Regions from separate parts of the Homo sapiens genome. Here regions 1, 2 and 4 are each linked to region 3. The links are contacts of gene promoters, found by promoter capture Hi-C in human tissues and cell types (Jung and others, 2019). All regions are on one chromosome and are shown on one strand. Each heading gives the region's core, a stretch centred on a gene start or on the middle of the fragment in contact. The rest is flanking DNA. Distances are from core to core; before and after follow the strand shown.

Region 1 (5,010 bases), core at 1-2,500, 220 kb after region 3:
AAAAATAGATTTAAAAAAAAGTACATGATCCTTAAGGAGAAACTCATTTTTAAAAATTATTAAAAGAGCAAGCGAATATAGAGACACACCAAACACCTCAAATTCTTTGTGGGATGAGTATAAATATATAAAGCAAACAAAATTAGCAGCTTCACCAACTTCTTTTGAATGATACTAGATTTTTAAAATAAATCAGATGCAAAAACAGTATGGCTCCTGGTAACATACTACTCTAAAATAATGGACTAGAGCCAGGAAAAGGAGATTTTTTTTTCTATTTTGCCGAGTTATGTCTTAATTATTATGTTAGCAGTCTTTCCTGAGAAGCTAAAAGGTAATTAGCAACTGAAGCCAGGCAAGAGTGGGGAGGAGGGAGGGCGCGGGCAGGCCGCGCTCTGCTGAATCTCCAGGAGCTGTTCTGGAGGGGATGGAGGCTGGAGGCTGAGCCTAAGTACAGTTGGGTTAGTGACAAATTAGATGGCTCATGTGGTTATTTAAAGCCTTCTCTCTAGGAAACTTTCAACTACCATATATTCAAGATCTTGCAGTTGATAGTTTTAAACTGGAATCTCAGGGACTCGGGCTGACTGTCACCTATACAAGCTACTCAGGGATACAGCAGCCATGAACGGTGGTGTGAAAAGTGGCCATCATCATGTATTTTCAAACTTTTTTGAGATATAATACATACACCAAAAAGTATCCATATCATAAATGTACATCTCAACACATTAGCCCAAAGTGGACACAGCTGTGAAACCTCCACCAGGGCGAGCAGCGGAACGTGACCAACTCGGAGTGTCCGGCGTGCCCCTCCATAGCCACAGCTGCCTCTGGGCCTTAAAGATAAGCTCTACCCTGACTCCTACCTCCGCAGATTGGTTATGCCTGTTTTTGCTTCACATAAGTGACATCACACAGAATGTATTCTTTCGTGTCTTGATTCTTCCACTTGACGCTGTGTTCATGAGATCCATCAACCTGTGCCTCTGTGAACCTTCTCTTACACCTCTCAGCGCACGTGTGTATGTTTCTGTTGGGTTGTGTACCAGGTCACAGGAGACACATAGGTCCACTCCAGAGGGGACACTGATTTTCCAACGTGTTGAGCCATTTTATACTCCTACCAGCAGGCGAGGAGCTTTCTGGCTGCTTCTTGTCCACATCAACAGCTGGTGTTGACACTTTGTCCACCCTGGAGGGTGGTGGTAGTTCCTCACAGTGGCTTTAATCTGTAGTTCACTAATGACCAGTGAGGTTGAGCATCTTTACATGTTCTTGTTTTCCACATGCACATCCTTTCTGGTGAAGAAGCCACAAGTTTTCTTTATTATTTATTTGTAGAAGTTATTTATATATTCTAGACCCAAACTCTTGGCAAGCTATATGTGTTGCAAATACCTTCTCTCACCCTGTGTCTTGCATTTCCATAATCACAGTGGAGTCTTTTGTTATACAGGAGTTCTTAATTTCAATGTGATCCAATTTATCTACCGTTTTTTTCTACGGTTAGGGTTTTTTTGTTTCCTGTTTAGAAAACTCAACTACTCCATGGTCATGAAGGAATGCTTCTGTTATCTTCTGGAAGGTTTATTGTTTCAATTTTCAAATTTAGAGGACAATTCACCAGGAATTGTTTTTCTGTACAATGTGAGGTAGGGGTTCAGAGTCAGTCCATAACTGTTGTCTGTGTTTGGTGCCCAGTTGACCTAGCACCATTTACTGACATGATTTCCCTTCTCCCTGCTGCTCTGCTGCAGTAGCTTTGTTGTGAATTCAGCATCCATATAGGCATGGGTTGTTGCTTTTTTCTGAACTATTTTGTTAGGTGCTGAGGACTGGCCTTGAACTGCTGTTTCCTGTCCTAATTACTGAAGCTTTCTCATGAGTCTTCTTTTGACACCGTAGAATCACCTTGCAGTTTTTCTGTTTTTCAAAATTTTCTTGGTTATACTTGGTATTTTGCATTTCCATTTAAATCTTTGAATTGGCTTATAAATTTCCTCAAAATATTCTGCTAGAATTTTTATTAGAATTTCATTGAAGCTATAGATCAATTTGGCGAGAACGGATATTCTCACAATATTGAGTGCTCCAGTTCACGTTTAGCCCTACATTGATTTAAATATTCTCCAGTTGCTCTCATTATCTTCTAGTCTTCTGTGTAGATATTACATACATAGTCCATTAGATTTATTCGCAGACATTTGGTGCATTGGATGATCATTTAAAATGTTCCCTATTTTTATTTTCTGACCACTGGTTTCTGGTTTATTTAGAATGCAGTTGATCTTTGTGTATTGACCTTGTACCAGCAGTCTTTCCAGATTCACTTAATAATTTCAATAGTTATCTGTAGATTCTATTGGGTTTCTTATATACGTATCATTTTGTTTGTGAATAATGACTTTTTCATTTTTTCCTTTCTGATCATTTTATCCTTTATTGCTTTCTTCTTGGCTTACCTCACCAGCTGCTGCTGAAAAGAAGTGTTAGTGGTGAGCATCCTTATTTTTTTCCTGACCTCAGGGGGGACGCTTTCAATATTTCACTAATAAGTGTGAGATCTGTGGTAGGATTTTTAAATATAGATGCCCCCGATGAGATCAAGGAAGCTCACTTCTATCTCCACTTTGCTAAGAGTTTCTTTTCCTGAATGCATGCTGAGTTTTATCACATTCTTTCTTCTGCATTTATTGAGATGATAGTATGATTTTTCTGCTTCATTACATTAATATGATGAATTAAGTTGATTAAAGTTTAAATGTTATACCAACCTTGCATTTCTGGAAAAAGCCCAACTTGGAAAAAGCCCGGGAGATACCCCAGGATCCTTCTAGCAAATCCCCCTCTCTGCTTGCCCACCCCCTTGCTTCAAGGACAAGGAGTGGAAGAAACAAGGAAAATGGTGAAGAAGCCCAGACCTCAGGGCTCCACCTGGCCCTGCTGAGGCCTAAGGCATGGGGGGGGGGGTACTTTTGTGGCTTGACTTGGGGGTAGTGGGGGTCTCCTGTGGCCTGGGTGGTTGGGAGTCTGTGGCCTGGGTACGGGGCATTGCTGACTGCTGTGACCTGGCCCCCCTCCCCAACTGCGTCCTGGCCATGGGGGGCTGCTGTGGCCTGGCCCTGCCTAGCAGATGAGAGGCTTCGGGCCTCATTTTCTATTGAGTGCATGGAAGCAGCTCTGGTTGATGTAAGACCAGGTCACTTACTGGACATTGGTCCCTTCCTTGGGCTTCAGTCTCATCAGAGAAGTTATCTGTAAAGTCATGAGTCAACAAAATATGCCTCAAGCAAACCGTGTAAAAAGAAAGTATAAACTAAGCATTAAATATTCCATCAGCCACAGAAATGTGAGGCACTGTTCCCGCCTGCACTGAGGTTCAGAGGCTCGCCCCTCCCCAGCACCCTCCACCGTGCGGTGCAGTGCTCAGTGTTTGCCAGCAGCCTAGGGTCTTCGAGGAGAAAAGTCTCTGCCGTCCTGTGCGGGCCACCGTGGAGATTGGTGATGGAGCTATTCATCAGTTCTTCGGCCAGTCTCTTTTCAGGGGCAAGGGTCTCCCGCCGGTCATCAACGCCTCAGGGGACGGAGGGGAGGGAGAGCACATCTGGAGGGGTGCAACCCCAGATGGCCCCACGAGAACCAGGAGGGACCCTGGTGGCCGCAGGAGTTCAGGCCCAGGAACAGGTCCCAGGCTCCCTCTTGTCCTGGCTCCTTCCCGGACCTCCTGGGAACACAGCACACATTCCAGAGAGATGAGAGCAGTCATAGTCTATGCGGGTTTGCTTGAATGGCATACAAGTATAAGCCCACCTATTTTTGTTTTCTAGAATTCCACTTCTATTTTTGGTGGAATATGAAAGTTTGACTATTTCCCAAAGTGGAAAAACACATGTTTTTCCTTGACTGTCTGGTAATGTCTTTGTTGCTCATTAAATAAGTGCATGCAGTCTCCATGGGCGCTTGGTGAACCCCCTTCCCGATCCCCTGAGCATGAGCTGGTTGTGTGCACCATACCCAGAGCCTTTCTCAAGCCCTCCTGCGTTTTATTTATTAAAGCTTCAGCACTTCACACATATCGCAGTGGGTAGATCTGAATAAGGGCATCAGATATGCCCACCACTCTGCAGCTAAGGACTCCAGGGAAGCCTCTCCATGAGGATTCCAGTGCTTAGGCCCCAGGCCCCGCCCCTCATGTATCTGTAAAACACAACAGAAGGAGGGGGAGGGAGAGGAAGAAGAAGGGTGGGAGGGTAGGAGGAAGGGGAGGGGCACTTCCACCCCTTCCACTGCCTGAAGGATGTGTGCGGTGGACACTGGGGTGACTATGGAAGGGGCGCGCTCACCTGAGCTCACTCCCACCAGCATATTAGCCTCCGTTACAACAACTAATTCTTTCGGTATTTTGTGACGGGGTTTCACTCCGTTGCCCAGGCTGGAGTGCAGTGGCACAACCATGGCTCACTGGGGACTCCACCTCCCCACTCAAGCAATCCTCCCACCCCAGCCTCTGCAGTAGCTTGAGACCACAGGTGTGCAACACCACACCCAGCTAATTTTTTCATTTTTACTTTTTGTAGAGACAGGGTCTCCCTATGTTGCCCAGGCTGGTGTCAAACTCCTGGGTTTAAGTGATCTTCCCACCTTGGCCTCCCAAGGTATTGGGATTACAGGTGTGAGCCACTGCACCAGGGCTTAGTGGGTCTATTTCTTGACTCTTTATTCTGTTCCATTGATCTATTTGTTTTGCTTCCCACAGACACCACATTGTCTTGCATCCTATAGCTTAAGGAAAAGAAGCTGGTGTCATTCCTGTAGGCTGTGTGCAGGATTGTTTGCCCCCTTCCAAGTTCTTTGCCTTTCCATTAAACTTTTAGGATCAGCTGGTCAATTTCTACAACAAAGCCTGCTGGAATTTCTATTAGAATAATATTGATATTTCAGGAAGTATGGACAGCTTCCTAGTACTGAATCCTCCAATCCATGATCATGGTATACCTCTCTGTCTTG
Region 2 (4,952 bases), core at 1,803-4,302, 200 kb after region 3:
AATATAAAACTATTAGAAGAAATTAAAGAAAAATATGAGTATTGTAGTAGGGAAAGTATTCTTAGGATTCAAAACCCAAAAGCCATAAAGGAAAAAAACTGATAAATTTGACTATATTTAAAATTTCTTTTTAGAAAAAAAAAATCGACCAAATCCAAAGACCAAGATAAACCAGGTAAACAGCTTCACATGGGAAGAAACAGAGACAGGGGCTGGTCCTGCCATTTCTGCCATTCTCCCATCATATTCTGCCATGGGTTTCTTTTTCAACTTTTTATGTTGAAATTTTAGGCTTATGGGAAGGCTGAAAAATAGTACAGATAATTCCCCTATGTCCTTCTCCCAGCTTCCTCTAAAATCATAGATTTGTAAGTTGTGAGCATGAGGAGAAGTATGTATCAATCACAGACCTGTATGTTGTGAGCTGGGAGAAGGATATATCGAAATCAGAAAATAAACACTGGCACAATACAATTGGCTACACCACAGACCTCATCTGAATTTCGGTGGTTTCTCCACCAATACCGGCTTCTGTTCCAGGATTCTGCCCAGAATCACAGGCCACAGTTAGTCATCAGGTCTCTAAGCTTAGACCAATCCTCGGTGTTTCCAGTGTTCATGACCTGGACACTTCTGAGGAACACTGATGAGGTGAGGTATTTTGCAGGACGTCCCTCTACTGGAGCGTCTGACATTTCTCCATGACTAGACTGTGATTGTGCATTTGTGGCAGGAGTCCCTGACAGAGCACATGCCATGTGGTGTGGGGCGGCATATGATGCAACTTGTCTCATCAGATGATGCTGATCTTGATCGCCCAGGTGACGTGGTGTCTGCTGGCTTCCTCCATTCTAAAGTTACTATTTTTCCCTTTTTAATAAATAAATAACTTGAGGAAGAGATACTTCGAGACTAGGCAAATATCCTGTTTCTCTCCAAACTCTGGCCCACTAATCAGCATCCTCCCGCGGAACTCACCTGAAGTAACTATTTCCATAGTGCCGCCTGAAGGCGATTTTCTATTTTCTCACTGCTCCTACACCAATTAATTGGAATGTTTCTGTCAGGAAGAGATGTCCCTTCTCCTTATTTTTTCAATTTCTTCTTATATCAATATAAGAAGTATCAGTAGTGATACTGACTTTGTTTTATAGATTATACACCTATACTATCATTACTCATTTCCTTGCTCAAATTGACCCGCTTTGGCCATGGGGCTCCTCCAGGTTGCTTATGTGCCCTCTGACACACCCCATCCATTTTGGCCACTTCCTTATTTCCAGCATCATCAGAGGTTCCAGACTCATCTTCTGCAAGGAGCCCTGCTTATTTTTATCAGCAACTGATATTTAGGTGTGCTCCCTGTTGCTGGAGGTCATTGCTTCTAGGTCTTCCCAACGGACAAGGCTAGGAGATGCATATGTAGGTGTATCACTAACCCATGCATGTAACGCGTACACCTATGTTTACTCCTGTGCTGTACATGCATCTATTAAAGACCACAGAGTCACACTGACACCTATCCCAATCCAACAGCACGGCCTCCCTCTGCCATCTTCCTTTTGCTATTTGTAACTTCTTCCTGGGACAGTGAGAAACCTGGCTCTCATTATCCACTACGATTCTGCTTATTTGTTCAATCCCCACATACACATAAAGTCGTTTCACATTGCTCACCATTAACACTGAGAAAAAAATTTACTACTATTTTGTACAGTTCTCTTCAGCCTCACAGAATCCAGTCAACATTATCATTTTCCCAAATAAGGTTAACACTTTCCTTTCCACCCCCTTTGCTGTGGCCCTGCCGCTTTGTACTACAGTGAGATGTGTGTTTTCCGCTTATATTTCATTTTGGGTCCCCCACATCCTGGCTGATATTAACCATCTATTTTACTTTGGAGTATATGAAGTATTGCTGTGGTTTCAAGAGCTGGGCCACACTAAAAGGTGTACTGAGAGCAGCACTGCACCCCACCTATGACCTGGCACCCACTCCACTTCCCTGCCCCCTCGCCCTCTGCACCCCACCTATGACCTGGCACCCACTCCTCCTCCGTCCCCTGGCCCTCTGCAGTCACCATCTCTTTTGTTTCTGGCTCTGCCCTCCTGTATCTCCTCTGCACAAGTGTGCAGGGAGCGTGTGTCTTCCTGCATCCCCTTCTTCTCACATCAAGGGCAGCATTTAGATGTTCTTTGGTACTTGCCTCATTCACATCCACGTGCCCTGGAAACCACCTCAAACCAATTCACAGAGGTCATCCTCAACAGTGGATGTGGTTGTGTGGCTGTACTAGAGTTTACTCAACCCTCTCCTGCATATGGATATTTAGGTTATTCCGAATGTATTTTCACATTGTTGGAGGTCTATCTTCTGGAAGGATTCCTAGAAGCAGAATTGCTGGGTCAAAGGGTAAGTGTTTCTGTGGTGTTGTAGGCTGAATGTGGTTTTAATATGCCCAACCGTACTTCACCGACTTCCTCTTCTGATAAGTGGGGGGAAAACATCAAACACCCGGTAAGAACTCATCTGCTGAGGACCTAATAGTGTGCACAACACAGGTGGTCAGCTTAAGAAATGCTAATAGCTTCTGCTCGACATTATAACCATATTTCATCCTATAGTAGGCTCATACAATTCAAGAAGCACAATGCACATCACAGAGACAGACTTCAAGAGCAAGCCAAATAAATGGCCCTTGCTAGCATTATCAGTATCAAACAAAGGCTTCTGTCTTAAACTCCATTTCGAAGCTCCTACGAACTCCTAGGAATCTACCTATGACAAATGAAAATACACATCCACACGCAGACATGCTTGCTAATGTTCAAAGTCACGTGATTCATAATAGCCAGAATGCAGAAACAACCCAAAGTCCATCGCTGGAGTGGAATAAACGAACACGCTACGCCAATACGACTAAAAGGAACAAATTACTGATATGTTCTACAACACACGGATGAACCCGAAAAACATGTTAAGTGAAAGCCTGATGCAAACGATGACACAGGACATGAGCTGCTTCCCATGAAATATCTGCAAGGCACATGTGGAAACAGCAGGCAGGCTGCCTGAGCGGTTGCCTGAGGCTGGGCTGGGTGCGCGAATCAACTGCAGACAAGCACAGGGAACATTTGAGGTGACAGGAGTGTTCAAGAACTAGACAGTGGTGATGTCTGCACAACTCAGACATTCAGAAAATCACTGAATTGTCCTCTTAGAGAGGGTGCATTTCATGGCAGCTGTTTAAAACAAAACAAAACCGCCTCAAAATGCCTTTCCTATGGTTTATTTTCTCCCCGTATTTTCCCAGAGCATTCTAAAAAGGTGAAGACTCAAAGCATTATTTGATCATAACTTGCAATTTGCATTGTTTCCTTCAACAATCAATAAGCCCAGGAAATCATCTAGACAAATTCTCAATGCAGTGTGAAAAGGCACACAGGGCAGGTCTTCTGTCCAACAGCACCGCCCTATCCCGGCTTCACACATAGCAAGCAGTGTCTGGCAAATCAAAGCCTGCCTTTTCCATTCTACACCGTAGCTCAAAATCATTGTCCAGGAAAGGAAAAAACCTTCCTTTTCCTACAGCAAGGGCTTCCAGCAATAAACAGAACTAAAATCTATCAGGCACTTCTTGCCTGTGCCACACATAACACGTGCCTATGGCTGATTCGTGCATGGAGAATTCAAGGTGAGCTGCACGGGAGGCTCTATGTCAGTTCTGCGTGAGAGGCACATGCTCAATGACGTCCTTTAGGTTCATGTGACACCAGCCTTTTCTGTGTCAACAGAATCAATTCCTCACAGTTTCATTAGAGGGATAAAATTAAAGAATTGAAAGCTTCACTATGTAACAAGATAAATATGTCACTCATTCACCTGCATGTGGGTGAAAACATCTACTACGTGACAACAAAAAGTGCAGAGGGAAAAAATTCCAGAGTAGAAGTTAGAAGATGTCACTTTTAACCCTGCTCTGCTCCTGGGTACATACATACATAGTATGTAAAGGACTCAAATTCAAAATGACCAAGACTAATAAATATGCATTTGATGTGACTACTTTCATTCATATCGAGAATGGAGTAGACGTAAAGAGTCCAATCATTGCTGTTTAACTGCAGCCACGGCGCTGAAGTTTCTGGAAACTGTAACCTCTGTTTAAATCGACTTCACACTATTTATGCTTAGGTCTAAACCAAGTGAAATGTGTAGATTAACACTAAGTAGTAAGTGTTTTCCACCATTCTTCATGTAGAGGTCAGAGGTCACGTCTGTAGCTCCCCAGCATCTTTTGAATCTCCTCTCTCTACCTGGGGATATCCCTAAGACAAAAGCCAGAATTCTATTTCCTGTTCTCACAGCCAGGGTGCACTCGGCCAGTCAGATGAACCAACACGAAACCTCACCTCAAATGATAGAAATTTGAGGGAGCAGGTCCCTAGTGGAAACTATTCCTGAAAAGGGAAAACAATGACACAAGAGAGGGCTTGGGGATGCAGCAGCTGGCAGAGGGCCCACCAGCGGCATCCGGCAGCCCAGGCTCACTGCACATGATCCCAGGGTAACCAGGTACTGTGTCTGACTCCAGAAGCCCGGGCTCACTGCACATGGTCCCAGGGTAACCCAGTATTGTGTCTGACTCCAGAGCCTCACGAAGACTACGAGAAGCCACTTTACATTCTTGAAAAGATTCCTTTTTTCAAGGAAATCAACTCACTCTAAGTGACTTAACACTGGGTGGGTTGGACACCTTGTGCCCAACTGTTACTAATCAAAGAAAAAGAAACAAAACTGGGCTTATGTGCACTGCCATAAGTAAACACACAGGAATAAAATGCAACTTTCCAACTTACTCTCCAGCCTGACTGATATATATGTTAAAGACCTCCACTTCTAACTTTGTAATTTTAGAAGTGAGGGTTAATGAAATATTAACTACTACTGA
Region 3 (4,603 bases), core at 1,543-4,042:
ATTTTAAGTGTCTTTCAAAGACCAGAAACGCTTATTTTTTGGTGAAGTTCAACTTATCTCTTATTTTTTCTTTTAAAGCTCCTGCTTTTGTGTCCGACTGAGGTCTCCTTTTTTTTTTTTTTCCCCCAAGCGTTTGTCCATCATGTGGCATTTCTGGGAGCTCGGGACTCCACTCTGACAGAGGAGAGAGGCCATTTCTTTTACTGTCTCCTGTCTCTGAAGAGAAGGATGAAGTAAAAGTTGAAAAACAACAGGAATGAAGTCAGCAGCAAGACCAGCCGGTGCCACCGATGACCAGGCCTGAGGTTAAAAGATTACCCCCCCTCCCACTCTAACCACATGTGATCTCAATCTATCACGACCCTTTCACGTGGACCCCTTAGAGGTGTAAGCCCTTAAAAGGGCCAGGAACTCTGTTTTCGGGGAGCTCGGTTCTTGAGACGCGAGTCTGCCGAAGCTCCCGGCCGAATAAAGCCAAATCCTTCCTTAACCTGGTGTCTGAGGGGTTTTGTCCGCAGCTCGTCCTGCTACATGACCTGCCTGTCTATCCTCTTACCCACGGCAACCTGCCTTGATTCCTGCAGCTTTAAAATAACCCTATCAGGGTTACAGTATTTTAATTTCTGCTTCACATAGTGTAAATCAAAAATAAAACTCTAAGCTTCCCCAACCCACTGAATGGATCCCTCATCTCCACCAGGGGGATTCTGAAGAACCTGAAAAATGAGCTCAGGCCAGGAAGGGACGGGGATTGGACATGGCTCATTATACCCACCTCCCTTTGGAGTTCAGGTGCAGCTGACCAGACTGACAGCAGACTCCATAGCAGCAAGACACCAAGTTCCAATCTGACGCTGGTATAGCATCACGTGACAACAGGCCCTCAAAGTATCAATGTATTTTACCCCAAAATATATCTCTTTGACAAATTTTGAAATGGCCCCGCAAAGCGGTGTCTTGTGGGGAAATTCATATTCTGTAGACTCCCCTTCCCTTTCCAGCTCTTTTTCTGATCCTGAGGAGACTGGCTGAGAGTCTAGTGCCTTTTGAAGGTCTGAATAGGAAACATTTGCCATGTATTGCCTCTGAGGGCGGACACCTATGAGATTTCATCCACATAATAAGGACCTCGGTCTCCACAGCCCCTTCTCTTAACCCAGACACTCCTTTCTATTGATTCCAAGCCTTCAGATAGTAACTTCTTTCAACCAACTGCCAATCAGAAACATCTTTGAATCCACCTATTACCTGGAGGCCTTTCCACTTGGAGTCGTCCTGACTTTCTGGATCAATCCAATGCACACCTCACATGTACTGACTGATGTCTTATGTCTCCCTGAAATGAATAAAACCAAGCAGTAAAACAACCGCCTTGGGCCAAGTTCTCAGGACGTCCTGAGGCTGTGTCATGGGTCATATTTGGCTCAGAATAAATCTCTTCAAGTATTTTACAAAGTTTGGCTTTTTTTGTAAACAATAGGCAGATATAAATTCCATTTGCTAATTTTTTTAAATGCTGTGTCTTGGTTCATGAAAGACATTGGTCTGTGGTTCTACTGTCTGGTGATGTCTGACTTTGCTATCAAGGCAATGCTGGCCCATACATCGAGCAGGGAAGTGCCCCTCCTCGTCCATCGTCTGAGTGGCTGGATTCCTATTATTTCTTCTCTAAGTAGGATTCACCAGCTTGGCCCTCTGGGCCTGGAATTTTCTGTGTGAGAAAATTTGATAACAAATTGATCTCAAATTTAACAGATAATAAGCATTAGTATTTTCTTTTTTGGTAACTGGCATCCTTCAAGAAATTCGTCCAATTATACCGTTTTGGGGGCTGCCTGCACTAGAGTCAGCGTGGCGTCCCCTCAGAAGGCCGGGTTTGCCAGCGCCGCGCCCCAAGCCAGGTCGGTCGGCCAGTGCTGGTGCCCTCGGGGAACAGCGGGAGCTGCCTGGAGGCTGCGGGGAGCGGCGGCGGCGGGCACGCACCTGGCTCCCGAAACCAGACCTTTAATAACGCCTCGCAGAAGGGGCGGGGTGGGAGGTTGGCAGCGCAGGGGCGGCAGCCCCGGATCCCCCCAGGTCTCCAGATCACCCCATCGAGCCCCGCGCCCTAGCAGCACAGTCCCTCCAGGGCTCCTTGGAGGGCCAGGCCTCAGCCCGGGTGCCCCCTCGCCGGGGCTCCAGGGTTGGGGGCACCCAGGAGGCCGCAGGTGTGGAGCTCGACGGCGCCCCCCGACTAGAAACCCAGGCTCTCATGCGCGGCTCCCGCCCCGACCCCAGCTCCAGAGGGGCGAGAGCACCCGGCGCCGACCCCGTCTACGGACCCCCTCCTCCGCCCCGCCCCCGCCGTCCAGCCCTCCCGCCCCTACCAGCCCCGGGCCTCCTCCCCACGGACCCGCCCCGCGCCACCAGCCGTCAGCCCTCCCGGCCCCCAGTCTCGCGTACCCTCCCCACTGGCCTGCAGGGTCCACCGACTTCCCGACCCCGGGACCTCCCGACCCCCGGACCTCCCGGCCTCGCGGACCCTCAGGAGCCCCTGCGTGGGCTGCGCCAGGGCGCCCGCGACAGCACCGCCGCGAACCACAGCCACGGCCTCCGGGTCTGCAATGGAACCTCTAGCCGCTGCGGTCAGGAGGGCGGAGACTCTGCGCACGCGCAGTTCCCCCTCCCGCCCCTGCTTGCCGGTGATGGCGCATAACGCATGCGCGGGGAGGGCGGAGCTGGGCGTTGCCGTGGCTACTGGGAACGCATTTCACGGGGGCGGGGCGTGGTTCCGGGGCGGGGCGCGGCCGCCGGAAGTGCGTGGCCGCCCGGGGCCATGGCGACACTCAGCTTCGTCTTCCTGCTGCTGGGGGCAGTGTCCTGGCCTCCGGCTTCTGCCTCCGGCCAGGAGTTCTGGCCCGGACAATCGGCGGCCGATATTCTGTCGGGGGCGGCTTCCCGCAGACGGTAAACGCGCGTCCACGGTGCCAACGCTGGGGTTCCAGGACCGGGCAGGGTCAGAGGATGGGATGGGGGCGGGGCGGGGTCAGGGGCCAGGGAGATGGGATGGGGTCAGGGGCAGGCCCACGGGATGGAGGGTGGTCCGGGGCCAGGGAGATGGAATGGAGCGGAGTTATGGGGCAGGGGCCAGGGGGATGGGATGGAGCGGGGTCAGGGGGCAGGGGTCAGGGGAATGGGATGGGGTCAGGGTTCTGGGGCAAGGAATGTGGCGGAGTAAGGGGCCAGGGTGATGGTATAGGGGCAGGGGGCAGGGGCCAGGAGGGATGGGATGGGGGCGGGGCAGGGATCAGGGCGATGGGATGGGATGGGGGCGGGGCAGGGGCCAGGGTGATGGGATGGGATGGGGGCGGGGCAGGGGCTAGGGCCAGGAGGGGTGGGATGGGATGGGGGCAGGAACGGGGGCCCGAGGGATGGGATGGGGGCGGGGCGGGAGCCGGGGCCAAGAAGGATGGGACGGGGACGGGACAGGGGCAGGGGCAGGGGCAGGGGCCGGGGCCGGGCTGGAGTCTGGGGGATGGGATGGGGCGGGGGCTGGGGGCAGGGTCGGGCCAGCGGGTTGGCTGTAGTCGAGGCTGCGTCACTGCGGCCCGGGTCTGCAGGCGGGGTCGTCTGCGAGGCCCGGGGCGCAGCCTCGGGAGCCCAGGAAGGGGGCCGGGTTGCTCAGGCTGAGCGTGGGCTGGCTCCGGAGGCCCCTGCAAGTGACACGGGTCCAGGCCTGGGTGTGCGGAGCCGGGAGTCAGTGCCGGGCGGGCGCTCCGCAGTGAATTCTCAGGGCCAAGACGAGCTTCGCGGCCGCCCTGTGGCTGTGGGATCTCCAAGCGGACCCCGGGAGGGGCCTGGACGCAGAGGTGTGCACGGCCCCTCGTGGCGTTCGCAGGCCTGGGCGCTGCACGCAGCTTCACTCGCGACGATGGGAGTATGGAAAACCAGCGCAGAGCAGGGAAAGGAGAGCGCCAGGGACAGGGTTTCTGTAGCCCTTGGGGACTTGTCTGTGCCTTGGGGACTTGTCTGTGCCTTGGGGCGCTTTGTGTCCTTCCTCTAGGGCAGTGATCTTAAAGTGTGTCCTGGATCTCTGAGCTTTTGTAGCCGTTTTAATAGTAGTACCAGAGTATTATACGCCTTTTTCACTTCTCATGAATGCACTGTGGAGTTTTCCTAGAAACCACTTGATCTGTGATGTCACAACAGATTGAATGCAGAAACGGGTATGGGAATCCAGCTGTCACCAAACCCAAAAGAGATTTGCAAAAATTAAGAACATCATCACAGTTCTTCTAATTCATTTTTTAAAATACACTTATTTTTTATTTAAATATGTGGTTTTTGTTAACATGTAATGGCTTCTTATTTTTAGCTGAATTAAATACTTGTAGCTTTAACGTCTAACATAGGACGTATCAATAGACATAGTGCACATAACCAGCCGTCAGTCATTGTTTCCAGTGTAAAGGGGTCTTTAAACCAAACAGTTTGAGAACCATGTGGGTACTGATTCTTGGGTTCCAGTCACTGGGATTCCTCTGCCTTAGTGTTGAACTATTGCTAATTGTTAAAACGATGTTAGCATGTCTGCTGCTTCTGCTTACAGGCTCCGTAAGTAACT
Region 4 (4,989 bases), core at 1,533-4,032, 240 kb before region 3:
ATGCCACCGCTCACCTCCAGGGCCCGCCCTGCCTGGCTGCCACTCACCTCCAGGGCCCACCCTGCCCTGCTGCCACTCACCTCCAGGGCCCGCAGTAACTGACTGCCACTCACCTCCAGGGCCCGCCCTGCCTGGCTGCCACTCACCTCCAGGGCCCGCAGTAACTGACTGCCACTCACCTCCAGGGCCCGCCCTGCCTGGCTGCCACTCACCTCCAGGGCCCACCCTGCCCTGCTGCCACTCACCTCCAGGGCCTGCAGTAACTGGCTGCCACTCACCTCCAGGGCCCGCCCTGCCCGGCTGCCACTCACCTCCAGGGCCCGCAGTAACTGACTGCCACTCACCTCCAGGGCCCGCCCTGCCTGGCTGCCACTCACCTCCAGGGCCCACCCTGCCCGCTGCCACTCACCTCCAGGGCCCGTCCTAACCTGCTGCCACTCACCTCCAGGGCCTGCCCTGCCTGGCTGCCTCTCACCTCCTGGGCCCACCCTGCCCGCTGCCACTCACCTCCAGGGCCTGCCCGGGCATACCCAGCTGCTATTCACCTCCAGGGCCTGCCCCGCCTCCAGGCCCCCCTCCCCCCCAATTGCCACTCACCTCCAGGGCCCTCCCGGGCATACCCAGCTGCTACTCACCTCCAGGGCCCGCTCTGCCCAGCTGCCACTCAACTCCAGGGCCTGCCCTGCCTGGCTGCTGCTCATTCACCGACTCTGTGGTTTCACTGCTCTTCTAATTTATCAAACATTTAACCGTGAAAGACTTTCATTCTAGACTTTTCTGTCTGTGCCCAGAGGTTCTCTTGATGATGATTTTCTGAATGTTTTGAGACGCCCGTGACCTGGTCTGTCCCAGAGCTCATGGGAGCCCTTCCAGGTATCTTCTCGAGTTTGTGTTTTGTGACACCCATTGTATAGGTTCAGCATCCCTAATCAAAACAGCCAGAATTCAGCTGGGCGCAGTGGCTCACACCTGTGATCCCAGCACTTTGGGAGGCTGAGGTGGGTGGATCACCTGAGGCCAGGAGCTCGAGACCAGCCTGGCCAACATGGTGAAACTCTGTCTCTACTAAAAATACAAAAATTAGCTGGGCATGATGGCGCGTGCCTGTAATCCCAGCTACTCGAAAGGCTGAGACAGGAGAATTGCTTGAACCCAGGAGGCAGAGGTTGCAGTGAGCTGAGATTGTGCCATTGCACGCCTGGGCAACAGAGCGAGACTCCATCTAAAAAAAAATAACAAAAAATCCAGAATTTGAAATACTCCAAAATCTGACAGTTTTTGAGCACCGGAAAGACAACCCGGTGGAAAATCCTGTACCTGACCTTGTTTGACGAGTCTCAGAACACGGTCAAAAGTTTCTTCATGCACAAAATTACTCCAGAACTCAGGGTGAGGCCCTGGGCAGTAGCAGGCAACCCCTTTGGCTTGCAAATGTTTGTCAGGTATTATATAAAATCACCTTCTGGCTGTGTGTGTACAGTGCATATGAGCATAAATGCATTTCGTGTTTAGACTTGGGTTCCATCCTCAAGACATCTCATTATGGACATGTGAATATTCCCAAATCCAAAACTACTGGCCCCAGGCATTTTGGATAAGGGACCCTCACTCTGTACTGAGCCAGGGGGACACGGCAGCTCCCAGAATGGCCCCTCGAGGGTGGCCTGGGTGCTGGCTCCTGCCTGGCAGGGGCGGGCATGTGTGGGAGAGATGGGGGCCTGGTGGGGGGCTTGTGCGTGCCCTGGGACCCCGTGGCTGCCGGGCGGGTCATGGGCTGGTGGGAGCCGGGCTGCAGGCTTTTCCCTGTGGCTGCTGCTTATTCTCCCAGCAGCGCCTGATCTGCCCGCTCTTCCCGTTCAGCTTTCAGATTGCATCTTCTCTGTCTAAAGAGCTCTGTGCCCTGGTCTTCGGGGTCAACACGTTCTTTGCCACCATCGTCAAGACCATCATCACTTTCATTGTCTCGGACGTGCGGGGCCTGGGCCTCCCGGTCCGCAAGCAGGTGAGCCCATTTCAGGCCTGCGTCCTCGGGGATGGAAGCTACTTGTGGGGACATTGTTGAGGCCTCCTGGTGCCCGCCTGATGTGGAGCCCACTGTGGGCTGGGGGCACAGGGTGCGGGCCTGGGGCTTCCAGTGGGACACACCAGGCCAGCGAGAGCAGGAAGTGAGAGAGACCCTAGCGGGGCTCAGTTGTTGTGGGCGGGAGCCTCCGTCAGGCCCTGGGCCTCAGTGGGAGCAGCTGAGCCTCTGCTCGCCACGGCGGAGCTGTCCTTGTCTCCGCTCTCTGCCTGTGGCTGCCGGAACTTGGTGTCCTTGAGCCCTGGCTGGAGGCCACGTGACCTTTGTCCTCTTCAGGAAGGAGAGCTGAGCAGAGCCACTCAGCAGTGTCAGTGCGCAGGCCTCTGCGGGTGCCCTCCCCTTTCCCACCTCTCGCGGGCCTCTGCTGCTTCTGAGAAGAGCTGGAAAACACACATTTAACTCCTGAGGGTCCCAGCCAAGGCCGGGTCTCCGAGTGAGCTGGAATCAGCCATGGTGGGCGTGGTGTGAGAGGTCCTTCCAGGCTCCTCAGGACTGCCCCAGCCTGCAGCTAGACAGATGCCCTTGGCGGGTGGGACAAGGGCTTTGTCCACCTGGGGCCCAGGTCTCACTGGGCAGGAGGACTGTCAGGGTTAGTCCTGATCCTCTGAGGGTGCGGAGTCTGTTCAGCTTCAGTGACTCCAGAGCTCAGGGTAAGGCCCGGGCAATAGCAGGCATCCCCTTCGGCTCACAAATGCCTGTTAGGTGAGGATGGCTGTTGCTCACTCATCGAAATGCATTCTTCAGCCCAAGAGTGTCATTAGGGCCTGTCCACGCTGGCAGGCCACGTGGCCCTGTGCCACAGAGCCCTCTGGGTACAACACCCCCGACCCAGGTGTGAACACTCAGGGCGGGTGAGTCTCCAAGGCCCAGGGGTGAACGCTTAGGGTGGGTGAGCCTCCGAGGCCCAGGTGTGAACACTCAGGGCAGGTGAGCCTCCAAGGCCCAGGCGTGAACACTCAGGGTGATGAGCCTCCAAGGCCCAGGGGTGAACGCTTAGGGCAGGTGAGTCTCCGAGGCCCAGGGGTGAACACTCAGGGCGGGTGAGCCTCCGAAGCCCAGGGGTGAACGTTCAGGGCAGGTGAGTCTCCGAGGCCCGGGGGTGAACGCTCAGGACAGGTGAGCCTCCAAGGCCCAGGGGTGAACGCTCAGGGTGGGTGAGCCTCTGAGGCCCAGGTGTGAACACTCAGGGCGGGTGAGCCTCCGAGGCCCAGGTGTGAACACTCAGGGCAGGTGAGCCTCCAAGGCCCAGGCGTGAACACTCAGGGTGATGAGCCTCCAAGGCCCAGGGGTGAACGCTTAGGGCAGGTGAGTCTCCGAGGCCCAGGGGTGAACACTCAGGGCGGGTGAGCCTCCGAAGCCCAGGGGTGAACGTTCAGGGCAGGTGAGTCTCCGAGGCCCGGGGGTGAACGCTCAGGACAGGTGAGCCTCCAAGGCCCAGGGGTGAACGCTCAGGGTGGGTGAGCCTCTGAGGCCCAGGTGTGAACACTCAGGGCGGGTGAGCCTCCGAGGCCCAGGTGTGAACACTCAGGGCAGGTGAGCCTCCAAGGCCCAGGCGTGAACACTCAGGGTGATGAGCCTCCAAGGCCCAGGGGTGAACGCTTAGGGCAGGTGAGTCTCCGAGGCCCAGGGGTGAACGCTCAGGGCGGGTGAGCCTCCGAAGCCCAGGGGTGAACGCTCAGGACAGGTGAGTCTCCAAGGCCCACGGGTGAATGTGTCCAGGCCCGGCCTGGGTGGACACAGCCTCCTGGTGGCCGGGCTGGTCTCAGGTCTGCAGAAAGGGGGCCCAGAAGGCTTCTGTTGAATGCATGGCCCCAGGGCGGGGTGCTGGCAGCAGTCCAGCTGGCTTTGGAGGGGCTCCAGCACCCGGGAGGAGGTCCTCCCCATTCTTGGAGCCCCGAGTTACCTCTGTCCCCAGACAGCAGTGGCTGCCAGCATGTATGGGCAGGGAGTGCCCGTCCCAGGGAGACCCTCAGGGCCCTGTGTGGCCCCAGCCAGGCTGGAACTGGCTTCTGACCTGCCTCTGGGTGCTGACTGCCCCTGACTACCGTTGCCGCCCCACCTCCATCCCTCTGTGACTGCCTCTTGTTCAGCCCTTGGCAGCTGGAGGGGCAGATGCCTGAGGGCTCTTTAGGGACTCTGTGCGTGTGCTCCCCTGTAGCTGCCCTGTGGAGGGGACCCCTCACGGTGGGCTTCTAAGGGCCCATGGGGGCTTGGTGCAGGGGGTGGAGCAGTTCTTCCCCAGAGAGCTGGTCACGAGGAAGCCCTTTCCCTTCCTTAGCTGGTCCTGGTCCTGGTGTGGCCGTGGAGGCTGTGGGGGAGACAGCTCTGGGGAGGTGGAGGCAGGTTCTGGCCTGTGGTTCCTGGCTGCCTCTTGTCACATAGAAAAAAAACACATGGACTTTTCTCTGGCTGGTTTGATTTCTAGGTTAAAAAGTTAACTAGTGGGGCATTTTGCTCATGGCTGGACATCCTGTTGGGTCTAGAGGAGGTGGTGCGGGCTCATCTTGCCCCCGTGCCTGTTACTGGGTGCCGAGTGTCCACTCTCTTTCCTCCAGCATGGGGAGAACAGCTGGGCCAGGAGTTCAGGCTTGGTCGGGGGTAGAGTCTGGAGACGGGAGGGAGCCGTGATGGAGCATGGGGGGACAGACAGGGCTAGAGCTTGCCTGGGTTTGCCTGCTTTTTAAATTAAGCTTTATATTTGGGTAATCTTATATTCACATGCTGTTTAATAAATAATACAGGGAGATCCATGTACCCCGTACCCAGTTTTCACAGTGGTCACGTCTTACAGTTCTGTAGCACATCACAACCAGCATGGCGACAGTCAGGATCCAGAACATTCTATCCCCACAGGGATCCCTCATGCTGCTCTTTATAGCCAAGGCCCACCCTACTCCCAGCCTCACGTC

The links. Contacts are between HindIII fragments. The study calls those that stand out against the background at their distance.
Region 1: a fragment that was not itself captured here is called in contact with the fragment with the promoter of POFUT2 in region 3 in 3 of the 25 tissues and cell types used here (dorsolateral prefrontal cortex, liver and spleen).
Region 2: a contact is called between a fragment that was not itself captured here and the fragment with the promoter of POFUT2 in region 3, in 2 of the 25 tissues and cell types used here (dorsolateral prefrontal cortex and mesendoderm cells).
Region 4: a contact is called between a fragment that was not itself captured here and the fragment with the promoter of POFUT2 in region 3, in 3 of the 25 tissues and cell types used here (H1 embryonic stem cells, dorsolateral prefrontal cortex and mesendoderm cells).

What each region holds. Positions count from the first base shown.
Region 1 is chr21:45,063,491-45,068,500 of GRCh38, reverse strand. The region is part of intron 2 of LOC105372836 (a long non-coding RNA gene); the gene reads left to right. Among named protein-coding and RNA genes, the nearest start is that of ADARB1, 8.6 kb to the left of the region's middle. RefSeq lists an enhancer at 2,900-3,733. The HindIII fragment of the contact is 3,437 bases long and covers 1-2,968 here.
Region 2 is chr21:45,084,645-45,089,596 of GRCh38, reverse strand. The region is part of intron 1 of ADARB1 (adenosine deaminase RNA specific B1); the gene reads right to left. Among named protein-coding and RNA genes, the nearest start is that of ADARB1, 13 kb to the right of the region's middle. The HindIII fragment of the contact is 5,819 bases long and covers 143-4,952 here.
Region 3 is chr21:45,286,084-45,290,686 of GRCh38, reverse strand. POFUT2 (protein O-fucosyltransferase 2) reads left to right here and starts at 2,792. Exons shown (of 9, transcript NM_133635.6): 1 at 2,792-2,946. The coding sequence starts at 2,816. LINC00205 (long intergenic non-protein coding RNA 205) reads right to left here and starts at 2,635. Exons shown (of 3, transcript NR_026943.1): 1 at 2,443-2,635; 2 at 1,249-1,336; 3 at 1-216. RefSeq lists an enhancer at 1,451-2,181 and a silencer at 2,336-2,865. The HindIII fragment of the contact is 23,447 bases long and covers 1-4,603 here.
Region 4 is chr21:45,522,830-45,527,818 of GRCh38, reverse strand. It overlaps SLC19A1 (solute carrier family 19 member 1), which reads left to right. Exons shown (of 6, transcript NM_194255.4): 5 at 1,861-2,002. Among named protein-coding and RNA genes, the nearest start is that of SLC19A1, 17 kb to the left of the region's middle. RefSeq lists an enhancer at 310-604. The HindIII fragment of the contact is 5,401 bases long and covers 82-4,989 here.